Linked DNA regions of Homo sapiens: all the other regions are linked to region 2. The links are contacts of gene promoters, found by promoter capture Hi-C in blood cells and fetal thymus (Javierre and others, 2016). All regions are on one chromosome and are shown on one strand. Each heading gives the region's core, a stretch centred on a gene start or on the middle of the fragment in contact. The rest is flanking DNA. Distances are from core to core; before and after follow the strand shown.

Region 1 (2,766 bases), core at 1-2,500, 200 kb before region 2:
TGAATAATCATGTAAGACCCCCATAAAGGGGGTTTCCCCAGTGTCGGCCAGCACTGCCTCGCCTTTGAGCGGCCGCTCCGATCCGCTGGCAGAGTGCGCTTTCGCTGTGCGATCAACTCCCTTGCTTACCTTTACTTTGGACGTGCTCTCAAGTTCTTTTGTGTGGCGAAGTCAAGACCCTGAACCGGTCCACCAGCAACAGTTCTTTCGGAGTCCCTCAACCACAGGCCCTGAAAGCCGCTGAGTTAAGTCTTTAAACTGCGGGAGAGCCTGGGAGCATCTGAAACGCAAAAGGACTCCCAGTGGATAGGGAGGCAGCACCCTGACCGGAACCGGAAGAGGTTTGCCGGTGAGCCTGAGTCTCCACACACAGTGATCCGGGCACCCGGGCTGCCGTGTGGCAGGTGAAACCGCGTGTGGTGTGGATGTTTCTCCAGCTGTGTTCTGTCGAGCCCCTAAAAGTCTGGCCTGCATTGGAAGGGCCTCCCCAGTGTCCTCGTTTCTGTTCAAACAGAAAAGTTCTTATTTTCTGTATTTGTGGTTTTTGCTTCCTCATATAATTTCGGTTGCACAAAGCTAAAAAATATTTGAAAACCTCTACTTAATCGTATAACTAAATGCAACATTATCTTTTGCTTATTTAATAACTATTTTAATATTTATTTTCTATTTATATTAATAGTGATAATAAAAATATAGCTTGGAGTGAGAGAAAAGCTTTCCTCTCTGTTAACTATCACTGTATCATTTAACTACCACTAGCTATTCCTCACAACGGTTTCTAAAGTGTAAGCACCTGCCACCTCATTAGCCTCTAAGCTCCACAGTGCCAGGGACTCTTTGCCTTAGTCTCTGCTATGTGCTCAGAATACCCAGCACATACTAGGTTTGAACAAAATGCATTTTGGAGAGTGGATGCTGCTGCCACCTGGTGACAGCATACCCACATTTCATGCTTAGCACTTTGATTACTTAATGAAATTCATGAGGAATGGAATCAGAAAACCTAAGACATGCATCTGTGTGATAGCAATCTCACTTTCCTCACTTAGCTTTTTCTGTTTCCCTACTCTGCACAGATTGGAGACATCTGAGTTTTCTCTGCCCCCATCACCTGCACCTGCCCTGGTGGCATGCACTTGCACCTCCTCTGTCTGGTATTAGGTTGGTGCAAAAGTAATTTCTGTTTTTGCCATTACAACTGCATAAACTGCGATTACTTTTGCACCAACCTAATAATAGGGCTTGCCCCTCCAGAGGATAGAATCTTTGCTTGTCACCTTAGAACTTCTCACACAGAGCACTGCATTCATCAAACCCTGGTCTCAGCCATCCTCGGGGCACATGGAAGGTCATGCCCATAAATCAATGCCTCAGCCAACATCTGGTCTCCCCTTCTGCCATTCCCTGTGTCCCTGCCCTGGCACCAGGCATTTGCAGGTGCAGGGGGCAACATCATTTAGTTAGCTTCATCTGGGCAGGGAGGAGCATTATTAAACATGAGAGATAGCTGTTGGCTCATGGAAAAGATTAGTTTTAAGCTATTTAAGGCAAAGCAATAAAGGATGTGGTTTCCTCCTCTGACATGCTTCCTAATTTGTAGATTCATATGACATCACACTGGATTACAAAGCCACATTACTCTGATTGGTAATATTATGCTATCCTAATTCAGTTTGTATAATTATTTAATTTTTTAGGACTGCTCTCAAATATTAACATTGTGTTCGGTAGAGGCCAGAAAAAATTGGGAACATGCATCCACACACGTGGAGAAGCTTAATTGCTAGAATAATGCAGGGCAATTATTGTAATGAGAACAAAGCCTCATGTCTGGCATACACATGTGACTGTGTCCAGCCCAACTTCCACTGAAGTGACAGTCACTGGACTCGAAGCTCCTCAAGGACAGGGGCTGTGTCGCCTTCACAGACATGACTCATTGCCGGTGCTCAATCAGGGTTGAGCTGACTTGACTTGAAGCCAAATAAGGACAAAGAAAGGTCAGGCAGTCCTGAAAAAGCCAAGGGTCTGAGAGACAACACTCGCTGTTGTCCTCGCTGTTTAATTCTCTGAGGTCCATTAGGAAGTAGGTAGGAGCCATGTCATCATGGCCACTTGGGCCAATCGTCTGCACAGATGGGGAAGGCATCTGCCCCCACAGTGAACACTAGGCTTATCTGCCTCCTAAATCTCTCTCCAGGCTAACTTCCATGGTTATTCAAATCCCTCTATTAAATATTCAGACCTCCAGCCCCTGGACCTCTATGGTCCTCCTGACAAAGCTAGAGCTGTGATTTCTCTGCACCTCCATTCTTCATCTGCAAAATGGGGCCATAGAGTCTACTCCACTGGGTTGAGAAGCTACTGGAAACCAGGCTGCCAAGTGCCTGATGCAGTATCTGTCTTCAGCTGGCCTCCACACAAAGACAGTTTCCTCTTTTAAATTATATCTAGACTTTTAATCATTTTTTTACATTTTTATGGGTACACAGTAGGTGTATATATTTATGGGGAACATGAGATGTTTTGATACAGGCATGCAATGCACCATAATCACACTATGGAAAATGGAGTATCCATCTCCTCAAGCATTTGTCCTTTGTGTTACAAACAATCCAATTATATTCTTAGCTATTTTTAAATGTACAATTAAATTATCGTTGACTCTACTCACCCTATTGTACTATCAAACACTAGGTCTTATTCATCCCCATGTCCGTCCTCCTCACCCCCGCAACACTTCCCAGCCTCTAGTATCCATCC
Region 2 (2,715 bases), core at 14-2,513:
ATTTAAAACACCTCTGAGAGCTTATTTACTGTGATTTGATCTGCTCTGGTCCACAACTGAGCTTTGATTCTATTACCTTGTGTTTATTTTTTTCAGGTGCTTTCCACCGCACATTTAAATCTTAATCCCATATTTTTAAACAATTAGTGCCTTTTAGATAAGAAATTAAAATGTTATTAAAATATAATTTTAAATTTTGATTTGAAGATACCTATAAAAGTTTAACTACACATACAATTCAACTTTTAAAAATTGATCCGACACAAATATTAATCCAAAGGTGGTTTGCTGCAGTATTATTTGTAATAGAAGTGTAGGCTCATCAGTGGAGGATTGAATTCCTCGGATGAAGTTAATCCACATGATTAAATAATTACGAAGCTGTTAGAAAGACCGAGCTGCATCTCAGTGCACGTGGAACAGTTTCCATCTCAGAACGCGAGCACGGGGAAAACACGCAGAAGACTGAGCGCCGAACACCGACGCCCTCTGCGAGCCAAGGGGCAAGGAGACCCTTTCGCGGCTGTGCCTGTCTCAGAAGGGCCTGCGATTTTTTACACAAGCACCCGCTGGCTGCATAAGTTAAACGGATCTCTTAAATGGAAGCGTCTGAAAGAGCCTAGGAATACACAGTTGGGTACCCAGCTCAGCACCCCGTCTCCGGACCTGCGGTCTCTCCCGCCCTCCGGCACCCGCACCCAGGAGCCCAGGCGGCCCTGCGCCCCCTGCCGGCAGGAGCCAGGCCTCACCCAGGAGTCGTCGGCCCGGCGCCCTGGTCCCCCGGTCCAGCTCGCCCCTGCAGGGCTGGCTGGAGCCGCGGGTCCCAGTGGCTCTGGGGACGCATAGCGCGGGGATGGGCTTCTCCTGGTCCCGCCCGCGCTTCCGTCCCTTCCATCCCTTCCTGCTCGCCTGTCCCGGGACCAGGGCCCCAGTCAAGGCAGCGAGTCTCCTCGCTGGCGGGGGTGACTCCGCTCGCGGGGCGTTCATCAGGAGAGCATAGCGCGAGAGGACGGGCCGAAGCGCGGGGACAGCGGGGACCCACTAACCTGAGGGCCTGGCCTGAGCCGCGCCCACAGCGTCCCCCTTGGCTCAGGCCTCGGGCGACCCCGGCGAGCGTTGGCGGGGGTGGGGGGGATGGGGGGGGCGGGACCTGGCTGGCGGCGACGCCGATTGGACGCACTATCGACCGCACCTGGCGCGGATTGGACGGGCGCTTCCCGCCTTCCGCCGTTCGCCGGAGGCGCTGCGGCGGTCCCTGAGGCGCAGAGTTGCGACGCTCGGCGGCATAGGGGGCGGCTCCACCGACACTACGCGGACGCCTCCTGCCGCAGGCAGGTTGAGCAGAGTGCCTGGGTGGGCTTCCCCCACGGCGGGGCGCGGAGGGAGGGTGGGGCTTCGGCTTGGCCTTTCAAGCCGGCAGGCGAGAAGCTTCCGACGGTTGAGGCGGAGCCGTTGTGGAAGCTGCCGAGGGGGAGGGGGTGCGGTTCTGCGGCAGTGGGCGGAGGGGAGGCGCCGAGGCTGGGCCAGGGCGTGGGCTGTGCAGAGTTCGCGGCGAGGGTGGCTCGCGCAGGCGCGAGGCTCCCCATCAGCACCTGCCTGGCCAGCCTCGGCCTCGGGGATGGGAAATGGGCGCTCGGAGCCGCCCCCGCGCGTGGGCGACTCGGTCAAGGTGGCTGAGGCGCGGGGCGGTGCGCTTGGCGAGCGGGGAGCAGGCCTGGGGCTGCGCGCGTCGCCGGCCCGAGGAGGCTGAGGGGTGCGGGAGAAGCGGTGGCGACGGGAGCCCTGGGGACCGCTGCTCGCCTGTCTCCGGGACATCTGAAGGGGGGTTGGCGCTGCGGCCTGGGGCGCATCTCGGGTGTGTGTGTGCTTTGTTGGTTCGGGGGTGACCCTGGGAAAAGGGTCACCGTGCCGGCGGTGGGAGCAGGGACTTCGCCTTCGGCCTCGTTGTTGCCACTGCCGGTTCCACTTAGGGAAGAAGGGAGTGCGCGCAAAACCTTCCTCCTGCTCGGCGCCTTCAGTCCCTTCTCTCCCTCCCGCCGTCCCCACCTGCGGCCTCTCCTTGCGGTTGAGGCCGCCAGCCCCTCCGCGCAGCTGGGCCTGATGCGTCCCGCGGCGGCTCAATGCGCGACACGTGGCTCCACGTGCGGCCTTTTCTGGACCGGGCTCCAGGCTGGCCGAGCATCTGCGAATACGGCAGCGTGGTTTTTTTTTGTTGTTTTTTTTCCCGAGACGGAGTCTCGCTCTGTCACCCAGGCTGGAGTTTAGTGGTGCGATCTCGCGTCACTGCAACCTCCATCTTCCGGGTTCCAGCGATTCTCCTGCTTCAGCCTCCGGAGTAACTGGGACTACTTGGCGCGCCACCACGCCCAGCTAATTTTGTATTTTTAGTAGAGACGGGTTTTCTCCATGTTGGCCCGGCTGGTCTCGAACTCCTGACCTCAGGTGATCCACCTGCCTCGGCTTCCCAAAGTGCTGGGATTACAGGTGTGAGCCACCTCGCCCGGCCTACATTTTTTAGTAATGATGGGAGGAGGAGGACGCCTTCCCTCCCCTTCATTCACCTTTAATGTCTTTTTGGACACCTTAGCTATGTTAGTTACCAGGGCAGAGGGGACTTTGAATTATCTACTGCTGCTTGCATTCATTCAGCAGTTTTTCCTTTGGGGGAAAATCTTTGCCTCCCCCATCTGCCAAATTGTTTTCTTTGTTGTTGTT
Region 3 (3,128 bases), core at 524-3,023, 180 kb before region 2:
AGGAAGCTTAGAGATCCAGCTAACTTCGTGGGGCCACTCACAGTATGTCTCTCCCGTGTCAGCTCAAATATTCAATTTCAAGCTCCTATCTGACCCGTGCTGCTTAACTGAGAGCCGTTCATCTTCTTCATGTTTAGGAAACTGCAAGCTCAGTATAAATGTGCCATCCTCTGGTGTCTCTTAAATTCTGTCTGGAAGAACGCCACGGGGAAAGGGTTTAGCATATCTCCTTCAGCATTTGGGAGCTCAGAATTCACAGGGAGATTAACACATATGCTGTAAGTCACGATGGGGAGAGCTATAAATAGAAGAGCCTCTTTCCACACAGTTGAGGATCTTCTGGTATAACCACAATACTTTATAACCCTGATCATCACACAAGGGGAAGCATGAAAATGACCGTGCTCTGAGAGAAGATATTTTATGCATGAACTGGTTTCATTTCTGGAATCTGTAAGCTTTTAAGAGGCAGGAGTCACGGCACATTCCACACTTCATCCACGTTACACCTAAAGGTTCATTGGGAGCACCTGTGAGCATACTTTGGGGTCATAAATCCCAAGGGTTTCTGGAAGGCTACTTCCAAACGCACTGGGCAATGTTTTTAAAGGATGTGCTTAAAAAAAAAAAATGAAGCTTCCAAGTTGCATTTCTTTCAATAGAAAACTGAAGCAGGTCATTGGGGCTCATTTCTTTCTTCCCCCAAATCTGCCCACATATTCAGTTGTTGTGTCTCCTGTCTCCTAAAAACACCAGGTGCTTTTGCTTTTCACTATTTTACCCCCGTCAGGCAGGGGTTGGAGGCTGGCCGGCCACGCCCCCCCCATTAGTCAGGGGTTGGAGACTGCCCGGCCACGCCCCCCACATCAGGCAGGGGTTGGAGGCTGGCTGGCCACGCACCCCACATCAGGCAGGGGTTGGAGGCTGGCCGGCCACGCACCCCACATCAGGCAGGGGTTGGAGGCTGGCAGGCCACCCCTCGCCAACTTTATCCAGTGATTTTATTTACAGCAGGTCTATCACTTTCAAGAACTCAACAAAACCATGACTCAAAAAGGAAAGAAGGAAATCAGGCAACCGCTTCTGAACGCCAAGGCCTTGCTTAGTAAGCTATCACTTAGATCAGGATTTCTCAGCCTCCGTCATGCCGAGATTCGGGGTTGGATCTTTCTCTGTGGCGGAGCTGCCCTGTGCATGTTACGTGTCAGCAGCATCCCACCTGCACCCGCTAGATGAATGCGCACACAGTAGTCTCAGCACTGCCCCCAGGTGTGACAACCAAAAATGTCTCCAGACACTGACCCATGGTGGCCCTCAGTGGAGAACCTCTGAGCCAGATGTTTATTTCACACCTATAGGACTGTAATGGAAGTCATCTAAGCTGAGTGCCAAGGCCTAATTTCCTAAGGACCCAAAACTATCCCACGAGGAAGCCTGATGGTCTCTGAGGTTTCTTCAGCTCTCACTTCTGTGGCTCACACCCAGAGCCCACAACAGAGACATGTCCAACCATTTCCCAGGCCTCCTTTTCAGAAAGTGCTGGATGCTTTTGAGTGCTAGAAGGGGAACCTGACAGAGAAAACAAAACCCGCAGGAGGTGGCTGCTGTCACGACCGCCCCCCGAAACCCGCTCCTCCAATTCCCTGCTTTCCTGTTGCTAAACGCAGAGTCAGCTGTCCAGCTAGAAATAAAAGGTTTATGTTGGGTTGCCACATAGATTCTTATGGCAATAACATTTGGAGCCTTTTACTGGGACATAAACTGTAAGCTAAAATGTCACCCGGTTTTATTAGACAATCTAAACGTAATTGCAAATAAGTTGATGTACTCATAAAAGATGATGTAAGACTGTCATCCCAGCAGCGGCATGGGGACTGGCCAGGAGCACAGGGCGATGGCAAAGTGCTGATCTGCCCTCTGCAACCAAAACCGTCCCCAGATTCCTGAAGTACAAAGAGGGAAGAGTTATGTTGGCAGGCAATGGCAGGAAGCAACATTATTACTTAATAATAATAACACAGGGAACAAGAGGTTAAAAGAGGTCAGTGCAAACCATGTCCCAAGACCATTTTCTCTGGAATAAAATTTTCATAACGAGCTCTAAGTCTTTTTTATGGGCAGGCAGAACGTCATTGGGAAATTAATGATGGATCTGAATGATAAATCTGCTTTCATATAGAAGCGTTGGTTTTTTGAAAATATGCTTTTATGCCTCAAAAGTTGTAAATGAGAACAAGACAAGGATATATCCAGAGGGATCATTATTCCAAGCTGGGCCAGCTGTCCCACCACCTGATTTCATCAAATTTATTCTAAATAAAAATATAGATCAACAAAAATCTACTTTTTTGTGCAAGAATGGGTAATTTACTTTTTTAAAAGATAAAATATGCTCAATATTGTGAAGACATCATGGTTTACATAGGAATCTTGTGTGTTTAACATACAGCTTCAGAAGATTCACCCAGGATAACAAACGTGAGAACAAATTTTTGTGAATTTCAAAATGCTCATCAGTTTACCATCTCAGGCCATTTTTCTTAATTATTAATTGGTCAGTTTGCAAAAGTCATGATATGACTTTCATGGGCTGCCAACAAAGCACACAAACCAGGTGGCTTAAATCAACTGGAATTTATTCTCTCTCACTTCCGAAGGCCAGAAATCTGAAATCGAGGTGTCTATGAGGCATCTTCTGTCTGGAGACTCTAGGGAGGGTCCTTCCTTGCCTCTTCCAGCTTCTGGTGGTTGCTGGAAATCCCTGGTATTACTTGGCCTTGTAAAATAACAACACAGAGAGAGACTTTCCAAAGAGTTGATTCGGGAATAGCAGAGGATTGCAATCCAGGATATGCATTCTCTGGTGAGCCATAAGCACATCCAAAGAGGTTGGGACTAGGAGAAGCTTTTAAAGACAAAAGGGAGAAGTCCACCTTAAGTTGTTTTGAAATGAAGACCATTGATCACAGGGGCTTATTCCGGGAGTTGGTGTTAGCTCATTGGTGGAAGCAGCCAGTGTTGGACAAGTTATGTGCATCCATAAGTGGCTTACCTGGAATCCTGTGTTTTTGAGGAGTTCCTTGCATAGTTCCTGTCATAGGCATACAAGCAGGGATGTCTTGTGATAA

What was found. Contacts are between HindIII fragments. The CHiCAGO score rates a contact against its expected background, and 5 or more counts as called.
Region 1: a contact is called between a fragment that was not itself captured here and the fragment with the promoter of SYCP2 in region 2, in 3 of 17 cell types (monocytes, megakaryocytes and neutrophils). The highest score is 7.0, in monocytes.
Region 3: a fragment that was not itself captured here is called in contact with the fragment with the promoter of SYCP2 in region 2 in 1 of 17 cell types (neutrophils); the score reaches 5.1 in neutrophils.

The regions. Positions count from the first base shown.
Region 1 is chr20:60,136,008-60,138,773 of GRCh38, reverse strand. MIR646HG (MIR646 host gene) reads right to left here and starts at 282. Exons shown (of 5, transcript NR_046099.1): 1 at 130-282. The HindIII fragment of the contact is 1,061 bases long and covers 720-1,780 here.
Region 2 is chr20:59,932,185-59,934,899 of GRCh38, reverse strand. It overlaps SYCP2 (synaptonemal complex protein 2), which reads left to right and starts at 1,263. Exons shown (of 45, transcript NM_014258.4): 1 at 1,263-1,331. It also overlaps a transcript of FAM217B not described here. RefSeq lists a silencer at 573-972. The HindIII fragment of the contact is 1,592 bases long and covers 1-1,430 here.
Region 3 is chr20:60,114,421-60,117,548 of GRCh38, reverse strand. No RefSeq gene overlaps it. Among named protein-coding and RNA genes, the nearest start is that of MIR646HG, 23 kb to the left of the region's middle. The HindIII fragment of the contact is 2,269 bases long and covers 639-2,907 here.